3 separate regions of the Homo sapiens genome follow, and all the other regions are linked to region 2. Evidence: promoter capture Hi-C in 16 types of primary human blood cells and fetal thymus (Javierre and others, 2016). All regions are on one chromosome and are shown on one strand. Each heading gives the region's core, a stretch centred on a gene start or on the middle of the fragment in contact. The rest is flanking DNA. Distances are from core to core; before and after follow the strand shown. Region 1 overlaps PODXL2 (podocalyxin like 2). Region 2 holds the start of RUVBL1-AS1 (RUVBL1 antisense RNA 1). Region 3 overlaps PODXL2 (podocalyxin like 2).

Evidence for each region. The method cuts DNA at HindIII sites, captures the fragments that hold promoters and counts their contacts. A CHiCAGO score of 5 or more calls a contact.
Region 1: a fragment that was not itself captured here is called in contact with the fragment with the promoter of RUVBL1-AS1 in region 2 in 1 of 17 cell types (megakaryocytes); the score reaches 5.5 in megakaryocytes.
Region 3: a contact is called between a fragment that was not itself captured here and the fragment with the promoter of RUVBL1-AS1 in region 2, in 5 of 17 cell types (megakaryocytes, endothelial precursors, naive B cells and 2 more). The highest score is 9.8, in megakaryocytes.

Annotation. Positions count from the first base shown.
Region 1 is chr3:127,638,561-127,642,230 of GRCh38, forward strand. It overlaps PODXL2 (podocalyxin like 2), which reads left to right. Exons shown (of 8, transcript NM_015720.4): 2 at 685-963. Among named protein-coding and RNA genes, the nearest start is that of PODXL2, 11 kb to the left of the region's middle. RefSeq lists an enhancer at 285-785. The HindIII fragment of the contact is 5,314 bases long and covers 1-3,670 here.
Region 2 is chr3:128,074,438-128,077,991 of GRCh38, forward strand. It overlaps RUVBL1-AS1 (RUVBL1 antisense RNA 1), which reads left to right and starts at 1,373. Exons shown (of 2, transcript NR_046645.1): 1 at 1,373-1,642. It also overlaps a transcript of RUVBL1 not described here and the pseudogene RNU2-37P. RefSeq lists silencers at 1,030-1,079, 1,090-1,529, 2,871-2,970. The HindIII fragment of the contact is 15,687 bases long and covers 1-3,554 here.
Region 3 is chr3:127,657,387-127,660,795 of GRCh38, forward strand. It overlaps PODXL2 (podocalyxin like 2), which reads left to right. Exons shown (of 8, transcript NM_015720.4): 3 at 2,992-3,409. Among named protein-coding and RNA genes, the nearest start is that of ABTB1, 14 kb to the right of the region's middle. The HindIII fragment of the contact is 157 bases long and covers 1,248-1,404 here.

The DNA of each region.
Region 1 (3,670 bases), core at 735-3,234, 440 kb before region 2:
AAAAATTAGCCAGGCGTGGTGGTGGGCACCTGTAATGCCAGCTACTTGGGGGGCTGAGGCAGGAGAATCACTTGAACCTGGGAGGCGGAGATTGCAGTGAGCCAAGATTGCACCACTGTACTCCAGCCTGGGCGACAGAGCAAGACTCCATCTCAAAAAAAATAAAAAATAAAAAAACTAAAGACTATGTTCAGGATACTGTATTGCTGAAATACAAATGATATTCATAATGCAGTTTTGGAGAAATTTCAGCCAAGGATGGAAGCCTGGGGAACACTGTGTTCGTCCAATCATACTGCTAGGTCCTTAAAAGCATGGGCCCTGTCTTCACTTCAGTTTGTAGCTCCAACACCCAGTACAATTGCCAACAGAGAGAGGGTACTCAGGAGGCATTTTCTGAGTGACCACATGCGCAGTGGAACACTGACTCAGTGATTCCTCTCTCTCCCCTGCCTGTCTCCATCTGTCTCCCCTTGCCCCTGCCATAGGGAAGTCTAAGCAATTTGGCCTTTTTGAAATGAAAATAGTGTCTCAGAATCCCCGCAAAGCCTCTGGGTTTTCAGGAGTGTCCACTGAAGTCCCCCCTTCCCCAGGACCTTTGTCATTTGAGACATGCTCTAACCTGGCACCAGTCTTGTGTCTTCTCTAGCCTCCCCTGACTGTCTGGCTTTTATGTCTGCACAGGAGCGTTCCTGGGTGCCTGTGTGGCTGGGTCTGATGAGCCTGGCCCAGAGGGCCTCACCTCCACCTCCCTGCTAGACCTCCTGCTGCCCACTGGCTTGGAGCCACTGGACTCAGAGGAGCCTAGTGAGACCATGGGCCTGGGAGCTGGGCTGGGAGCCCCTGGCTCAGGCTTCCCCAGCGAAGAGAATGAAGAGTCTCGGATTCTGCAGCCACCACAGTACTTCTGGGAAGAGGAGGAAGAGCTGAATGACTCAAGTCTGGACCTGGGACCCACTGCAGGTAGCTCTTCTTACCTACAGAGCATGTGTTGAGTGCCAGCCAAGTGTCTAGGCAAAACACCAGGTGACCATTTCCTTGCCAGAAGCATCTCTTCTCTCTCCCTACAGTTTTTACCATGCTGCTGCTGTTTACCTGCACATCAGAGCAAAGGCTCTGGGACCCTGAATGTCTCACAGGCCCAGGAGGCCCTTTCTCTTTAATACTAACCACTGTTTAGGGAGCCTTTATTCTGTGCTCATTTAATTCAATCTGATGCTTATAACCTGAGAGATAAGTAATATGACCCCCCTTGTAGACAAGAAAACACTGAGACTGAGAGGTTAAAAGCTGGCCTGAGGTCAAACAGCAGCTCAGATGCTCAGTCATGATTCAGACCTATGGCTTTCCAAGCCCTGGGGCTCATTGTTTTGTTTTTCCCTACTGCTCTATGCTGTCTCTGTTGAAGATTGCCACAAGGTCAGCTGATCCATGTTTCCTTGAGTCTATCCGACCAGCAATTGAGGCATTCTAACCGCCCTTCCCTCAGTCATGCACCAGAGCTAGAGCTGGTGTTTGGATCTACAGAGCCCAGCTGGTGAACATTTGGGTCCCGAAGAAAGCCCGAGGCCTAGGGCTCCAGGTTTGAATGCCCACCGCCATGAGCTGACATTGATACAGATGCAGGCATGGCCCCTCCACCAATGTCCTGGGCCAGCAGGGCCCCATCTCTTAGTAGGGACTGAGGAATTGGTGTGATTGTGTGTGCACATGGGGCAAGGTGTTACAGAACTTAACCTTTAATTTTTCTTTTTAAAATAGGTAATATTTATTGGATTTACCTTTTCTAATTATAAAAGAACACATGAACATTGTAGAAAATCTGAAACACACAAAAATAATACAAAGAAGAAAATAAGGCTGGGTGTGGTGGCTCACGTCTGTAATCCCAGCACTTTGGGAGGCTGAGGCGGGTGGATCACTTGGGGTCAGGAGTTTGAGAACAGCCTGGCCAACATGGTGAAACCCTGTCTCCACTAAAAATACAAAAATTAGCTGGACATGATTGCGGGCATCTGTAATCCCATCTACTCAGGAGGCTGAGGCAGGAGAATGGCTTGAACCCGGGAGGTGGAGGTTGCAGTGAGCTGAGATCGCACCACTGCTCTCCAGCCTGGGCGACAAGAACAAAACTCTATCTCAAAAAAAAATAAAATAAAATAAAAAATAAAAACTACCTATAACCTGATAATTGAAAGATAATTACTATTAGTAGTTTGGGGATACATTGTTCTAGTCACTTTATGTGCAAAATTGGAATCATAGGGACATTTTGTTTTCACTCAAAATATTTCATAAGTATATTTCCGCATTGTTAAATATCCATTTATAACCTGATTTTTAAACATGTTATTATTTATTTATTTTTTTGAGATGGAGTCTTGCTCTGTCACCTGGGCTAGAGTGCAGTGGCGTGACCTTGGCTCACTGTAACCTTCATTTCCTGAGTTCAAGTGATTCTCCTGCCTCAGCCTCCGAGTAGCTGGGATTACAGGCATGCGCCATCACACCCAGCTAATTTTTGTATTTTTAGTAAAGACAGGGTTTCACCATGTTGGCCAGGCTGGTCTCTAACTCCTGACCTCAAGTGATCTGCCCGTCTCGGCCTCCCAAAGTGCTGGGATTACAGGTCTGAGCCACCGCACCCGGACAACATGTTATTATTTATTTATTTATGTTTAGAGTTGAGGTTTTGCTCCATTGTTCAGGTGTGATCATAGTTCACTGTAACCTCGAACTCCTGGGCTCAAGCGATCCTCCCACCTCAGCCTCGTAGGTAGCAGGGACCAAAAATGTGCCACCATGCCTGACTAATTTTTTCATTTTTTTGTAGTGATGGGGTCTTGCTATGTTGCCCAGGCTGGTCTTGAACTCCTGGGCTCAAGCGATCCTCCTCCCTTGGCCTCCCAAAGTGCTAAGATTATAGCTGTGAACCACTGTGCCTGGCTTATAACTTGATTTTTTTTTCTTGAGACGGAGTTTTGCTCTTGTTGCCCAGGCTGGAGTGCAGTGGTGCCATCTTGGCTCACCACAACCTCCGCCTCCCAGGTTCAAGCGGTTGTCCTGCCTCAGCCTCCTGAGTAGCTGGGATCATAGGCATGTGCCACCATGCCCGAATAATTTTGTATTTTTTTTAGTAGAGACAGGGTTTCTCCATGTTGGTCAGGCTAGTCTCGAACTCCTGACCTCAGGTGATGTGCCCACCTCGGCCTCCCAAAGTGCTGGGATTACAGGCATGAGCCACCGTGCCCAGCCCTGATTTTTAACAACTACGTTATATTTCATCATGTGGGTCATCAGGTGTATTAAACTGGTTCCCTACTGTTGAATACTTAGGTTGTCTTCAGTTTTAATTCTGCTACAAATATCCTTACACATTTTCGCACCTTCCTGGTGGTTTCCTTAGGATAAATTTCTAGAATAAAATTGATAGGTCAAAAGATGTATTAGGGCCGGGCACGTGGCTCACGCCTGTGATTCCGGCACTTTGGGAGTTCGAGGTGGGCAGATCATGAGGTCCGGAGTTCGAGACCAGCCTGGCCAACATGGTGTAACTCCGTCTCTACTAAAAATACAAAAATTAGCCAGGTGTGGTGGCGGACGCCTGTGAACCTAGCTACTCAGGAGGCTGAGGCAGGAGAGTTGCTTGAACCTGGGAGGTGGAGGTTGC
Region 2 (3,554 bases), core at 123-2,622:
CTTTCTGGGCAATAGTAATATCCTTCACTGGGATTTGGGTTTCATTAGTCAGAACTCATGGAGTGCTCCACTTAGGATTTGTACATTTCACTGTATTTTTAACGTTTAAAAATAACCATAAGCAGCCGGGCACAGTGGCTCATGCCTGTAATTCTGGCACTGTGGGAGGCCAAAGCAGGTGGATCACCTGAGGTCAGGAGTTCAAGACCAGCCTGACCAACATGGAGAAACCCCATCTCTACTAAAAACACAAAATTAGCTGGGTGTGGTGGCATGCGCTTATAATCCCAGCTACTTGGGAGGCTGAGGCAGGAGAATCACTTGAACCCGGGAGGCGGTGGTTGCAGTAAGCTGAGATGGCGCCATTGCATTCCAGCCTGGGCAACAGGAGCGAAACTCCGTCTCAAAAAAAAAAAAAAAAAAAAAAACTTAAAAAACCATAATCAAGTACTGAACTCTAGATAATTATACACATGCTTAACTATTTACAGAGGTTGTTGTATCTGCAACTCACTTTGAAATGCACAGAAGACTGACAAGACTGACTGGCAGGCAGACAGGGGGATGGGCAGTGCAGTGCCTAGATGACAGGGATATGGGGGCTCACCTGCAATCCTTTTTTTTTATTCCCCCAAAGGGGGTGCACTATTCCTGGAGGTACTGCAATACCAGGTGGATGCATGGAGTGGAAAGAGCAAGGTCCTATTCCATCTCCCTGCTCCAAAAATCCATTTAACATACTGTCCTCAGATAGCAGATATTAAAGTGATAAGAACACTACACTTGATCTTAGCCAAAGGCTGAGAGGCGATTGCCTGTAATTCTTGCAGTTTTCCATGTGATATGTTTCATAATGAGTGTTGGGAAGGTCCTGTGAGTGTGTGCTGCCTCACCCAGGTCCTGGCCATCTCTAGAGGAACACACCGGTGTAAGGCAGGCGCTTCCGGAAAGGGAACAGGAGGCAGGGGGCAGGTGTCGAGGTAGGTTTTCACGGTACACGCCTTTGGCAATTTTGCATCAAAAAACTAAGTGTATGCACATTTTTTTTAATTGAAAGCCCAACTCAGCCTTCCCCCACTGCTCCTTCCCCGCATGCACGGGGGGACACACGCCTTCCTCCCTGCCTGCCGGGACTTCAACCTCGCTTGCTGGGAAGTCGCGCACTTTCGTCGCGACTTCCCAAGTCGTGCTGGGTGTGACTTGGAATCTCGGATCCCTGGGCTAGGCCTGGCCACGCCCCCATGGGGGGAGGGGCAGCGCGGCGGGGGCGGAGCCTGGGCCCGAAACGCCACGGGCGCGACTCTGTGCGCGTCCGCCCACACGGGGGCGCTGTGTCCTCGCAAGCTCCCGCGGGGTGCCTCGCGGCCCTGGAACGCTGTGGTTTTCGAGGGGAAAAGTGAGAGTGGCTGGTCCTGCCTCCGCTGCCGCTTGGCCCTGAGATCCCCACTGCCCACGGGATAGGCCCCAGTCCACCCAGCCGGGGCCCCCCCCTTCCCCTCGTCTCGCTCTCCTTGGCAGTTCGGACTTCGGGTCAGTCCCACACTCGCGCCCGGCTGTCCCTGCTGCGCTCCTGTCACTGGCATTGGGAAGCCCTCCGGCCCCCTCTCTGCACACCTGGCACACGGCTCCTCCCTGGCGGCATGTGGGTATTTGGGTTGGGCGAGCCTCTCCCTCCCGATTCCCGAGTTCCGAGTGGGTCCCGGCGGACCAGCGCTATTCTGGAGGGGCAGTGCCTCAGAGGCAGGTCGCTTCGAGTGGGGATTTGTGCGCTCTGGCGCGGAGGAGGGGGGTGGGAAGCCGGCTCTTGCCCTCCTCACCCGGTGGGGAGCGAGCAGGGCCAACGGTGCGCTGAGAGCGCTCAGGGCGTCCCCAACAGCATGACCCGACCCAGGGACGAAGCTCTGGGGGACGGGACCACTTGCGATGACAGCTAAAGGAGCACAGGGGGGCGGCCGGCATGGAGAGGCGGGGCCGGCATTCCTGCGGGCCTGCCGGGAGGGTGGGGAACCTGGGATTTAGCCATGGGACCTGTGGAAGGGTTTTGGGTCGGGGTCCTGACCGTCTAGTCTGGGTTCTCAAAGATGGTTGGGACAGTGGGCAGGCTTGCAAAGACCGAAGAGGCTGGTGGACCTGGTGGCTGAGGCCTAGGCCAGGCAGGGATCGCGGTGGGGAGGTCACAGTAGGTGTGGTCCCTCCTCCCCCCACCCCTCAGGCCTAAGTCACTCAGGCCCTTGTGTCACGGTGGCACCGGGACCTCCACCCACTACATACACACGCGCGCGCGCAGCCCCGTGAAAACCTGCGCCGTGTGCCCCAGACCTGCAGCCCGCATCCCGCCGTGTCCCCCGTTCCCTGCATGCGGCTCCAGTGTAAGTGCAGCGTGCCGTGTGCGGCGTCCCAGCCCGCACCCCGCACCCCACCATGTCCCTCTGGGTGCGGGGTCCGCATGCCCGCGCCCTCCCCGCAGCTGCCGGCGTCCCCATTAATCACGCGGCGCTGACGGCGCTGATCTGCGTGCTGGCGGCGTGACGGTGACGGTGACGGCGGGTGACGGAGCGGGCAATCGGCAGGCGCCCATCGGCCCATCTTATCGCGGCGGCCCAGCCGCCGCCCGCTGCGCGCCGCCCATTGATCGCGCCGGGCCCCTGCCCGGGGGTCAGCGCGGGCCGGGCCGGCCTGACAGCCGCATCCGTCGCCGAGACGCGCGCTGATGGCCGCCCAGCCCGCACGGCCTGGCCATTAATCACCGTGCCTGCCGCCAAGTGACGGGAGGGGCGGCAGGGCAGCAGGGGACGACAGGCAGCCCCCGTGGCCGGCCCACCCCTTCACAGTTCCGGGGCCCTGCTGCGTGGCCCGCCCTGCACCCTAAGCTCCCCAGCCCCCCTGCCCAGGCCTCCCTCACCCCCTATCCTCTTATGGCCTGCTCTCCCCAGAACAAATGGAAGGGGAGTGGCTGCATACTGGAGGAAGCAAGAAAGAGGAACTTCTGTGTGGAGAATGAATGGATGACCACGGATGAAGGGGGTGAACACTGTTCTACCTCCCGAGGGACCTCTTTCCCAGACACCAAATGAGAGCAGGTCTGACCTGACAAACACCAGCACTGGCTGGGACAAGGGGGTGGTCATTTCGCCCCCTCTGGCTGCCTCAGCCCTAGCTGAGCCTCACCCAGGATGGGATGCTAGGGCCCCAGTGAGAAGCAGTGCGTTGTTTCTGGCAGTTGCCCCGTGCTACCCCCTCTGCTCTTGGGCTGTGTGGCCCTGAGCCAGTGCTGGCCCCTCTGGGCTACAGGGCTTTTTCCAAACACAGGGGGATCCTAAGGGTCCTTCCAAGTGCCAGCTGTCTGCGATAGGGAGGGGCAGGGCCTAGCAGGCTGCTTCCTCCAGTTTGACAAACTGTGACCTCTTTCCAAGTGGGCCAGGAATCAGGAACTCTTTACTGCCTCTTAGTCTCTTGGGTACCTGATACAGCTACATGTGGGTCACTTCACCAAGTCCTCACATGGGTCTATGGGATATGAACTTCCCACTCACACACCAGGAAACCAAAGACTC
Region 3 (3,409 bases), core at 76-2,575, 420 kb before region 2:
GCGTCCTGAAGGTTTCCAATACTCCTTTCCTCTGAACTTCACCATCTCTATTAATGGCTTGGCTACTCCCGCAGCTTCTCCCTGTTGGCCATCTAGCTCACGCATCTGATTACTTCTCTTTCAGAGTCATCTCTTGAGTCTGCTCTTTTCTCATCATCTCCAGTGTCATCACCGCCATGCATCTCTCCCGAATCACTGCAGCAACTCCCTGACTCTTCTTTGCACTTTCATTCATCTACTCCTTCACCTAATCTTGTAAATTGCTGTCAGATTAATCTTCCAATAATGAAATATTATGCTTGTAAGTGATTTCATATATTGTATTTCCTAGGCACCCATCTGACTCCTATTCTGTTACCCAGTATTCCTATCAAGTAATCATCCAGCCCATTTCAGTTATGTTTTCATGCATTATATCTTAATTCTGGATAGATCTGGCTATTATAAAGTTCTTACTTACATTGAGGTAAAATATATTTATTCTTCTATATACTTGTTTTGTGGGTGTGATTTCCTCCTGAATCTTTCTGAAGATATTAACAAGAAACTTTTCTGAATTCTCTTTTGTTAACTAGACTAACTTTTCCTAGAGGTCAGTTGCTTTATGGTCCCACCCTTATGCTTCTTCATCAGGCTGGCTTTCTTAAAATGTCTTGTGAATCTTGGTTGTTCTTTCTTTCTTATTTATCTGTAGTGACTTCACTACAGAGTGTGTGCAGTAGGTGGAAGAGGGGGAGGATCTGCTACTCAAAAAGTCTAATTAACAGAAGTGGACTGGATAGAATATTCTAATTATTGATTTAAATACTATAGTGGGCTTTCAGTTGTCACTAGGATTGTTCAGCTTCTAAGTCATACTTTTTATTACAGGGAATCAATTTTTCTTTTTGAAATAATCGTTCTCAGAGCTCTCTCTGTGTGTTCTAATTTGAACCAATTGCTTTCCAGGCTTACTGCACAGTTTCCATCCTGAGATATATTTTCATTGCATTCCTCTCATGTTTCTTGATTTCCCATGTCTTTTTTTTTTTTTTTTTTTTTGGTTTCTTAAATAACTTACTTAAATCTCTTGGAATCTGTGGATAGTAACACTTTTAAATCTTTGCATGTATGAGAATGTCTTTATTTTGCAATCACACTTGAGTAGTCATTTATTTGGATATAACATTTCAGGTTCAAAATAAACATCCCTCAGATTTTTCAGTGCATTTTTAAATTCTTCCTCTAGGCTACTGATATTAATTAGAAGCTTCATGATAATTTGGTAATCTGTTTCTTGTTCCTTTACAGATAACCTGTTCTTTCTCTGAGAGCTGTTAAGATTTTCTCTTGCTCCTTATAATTCTAAAATCACATGAGAATGAGGCTAGGTGTAAGTCTTTTATCATTCACCTTGATGATACAAGCTTTCATTGCAAAGATTCATGTTGCCAGCTCTGAAACTTTTTTTCTTTGTTTCTCTCCATTATTCTCCATTTTGTTGGTTCTATCTTTCCAGAAATCATATTAGCTAGGTATTAGATCTCCTACATTGGTTGTCTGTATCTTTTAACTCTTATCTGTTGTCTTCTCACTTTTGCCCTAGAGGCTTTTCCTTGACTTTTTTTTTTCCCAGCCATTAAAAATTTGAATTTTCAATCCGTTGAATTTTTAAATATCAACTATTGACTTTCAATATCCAAGAAATTTTTCTTTTTTAAAGATTACTTGATTTTCTGAGTGGCGTCTTATTTTAGGGATGCAATATTTTGTAATCTTTCTGAGGATACTAATTAGACTTTTAAAAATTACCTTCTGTTCTCTGAATTTTCTGTGTTCTACATCCTTGCTCCCACAGTTGTGCCTCTTCCTAACTCTGGGTAAGAAAGCCTGCCTCCTCCCCTGCTATTTTTTCCTATGTTTATTTTGGCTGAGGGGTTATCTGTTCCTATAATCTCATCTGCTTTCCATGTTCCCAGAAATTTCTCTAAAATGTTTTTATCTTCATTTTGACAGTTAAAATTGTTTTTGTCATTTGATAAAAGTTTTGGAGGAGGAGGTAAATGAATACCTTTAGTTCGCTATCTTAAAGTGTTCCCACCACTCTCCTTTCTAAAGAGTATTTTAAAACTACAATATTTATTATTTTGAAACAAAATGGCAGCCAATAAAAGTTGCTTCCTAGATACAGCTTCTGATATTTTGAATGAATTTCCAAAAAACTTGTTGTATAACTTTCATGCATAGTTATTTGGAAGAGGCCTAGGGTTCATTGAAAAGCCAGAAAACAATCTGATCTCCAGGAAGTCTCCTAACTTCTCTGCTTCAAAATGTAATTCCCAAGAATGGCAGGGAGAATAAAAACCCCTCTCCCATTGCCAACAGTGACCCTGAACATTCTGGGAGGCCCTGGAAAACTCTGGGCTCAGCCCCTGGCCTCTCTCTGGCTCTCCCTACATCTTTTTCATTTCCTGTCAGGGCCTAAATTACAGAAAAAGAGCACAGTTGAGGAACAATGGTCATAATTGAGGGGTCTCACTTCCTCCAGTGATGAGAGGGCTCTCAGACCTCCTTCGGGGACTCCACCAAGAAGACTCTTATAACGACTCACTAGAAAAGGAGTAGGGGGACCCTTCCTAGTGGGTTGTTGTGGGATCTTCTTGGTGAAATCCCCAGATGAGGACAAGCAAGCACATTACAAACACAGTGGAGAATATATACCTCAAACTACTCATGGCTCTTTTGGAGGAATGCAATATACAAAACTTTCTACATTCCTGTGTTCATTGAGTTTTGGTGATAAATTTGTATTATTTTATCATCATAAAGGAAACAGTGACTAGCCTTGTCCCTGTGTCCTCCCACAGTCTGCTCCCCTGGCCTCTCCATCATGACCTGATGACCCCTGCCCTGTCAGTGTATTGTGGTTCTTTTATGCCATCTGCCCAGTAAATACTGAGTAAAGCAATGAATGATGAAACAAGTGAATGAACTTTTCATCTCTGTCCTTAGATTATGTTTTTCCTGACTTAACTGAGAAGGCAGGTTCCATTGAAGACACCAGCCAGGCTCAAGAGCTGCCAAACCTCCCCTCTCCCTTGCCCAAGATGAATCTGGTTGAGCCTCCCTGGCATATGCCTCCCAGAGAGGAGGAAGAAGAGGAAGAGGAAGAGGAGGAGAGGGAGAAGGAAGAGGTAGAGAAACAAGAGGAGGAGGAAGAGGAGGAGCTGCTCCCTGTGAATGGATCCCAAGAAGAAGCCAAGCCTCAGGTCCGTGACTTTTCTCTCACCAGCAGCAGCCAGACCCCAGGGGCCACCAAAAGCAGGCATGAAGACTCCGGGGACCAGGCCTCATCAGGTGTGGAGGTGGAGAGCAGCATGGGGCCCAGCTTGCTGCTGCCTTCAGTCACCCCAACTACAGTGACTCCGGG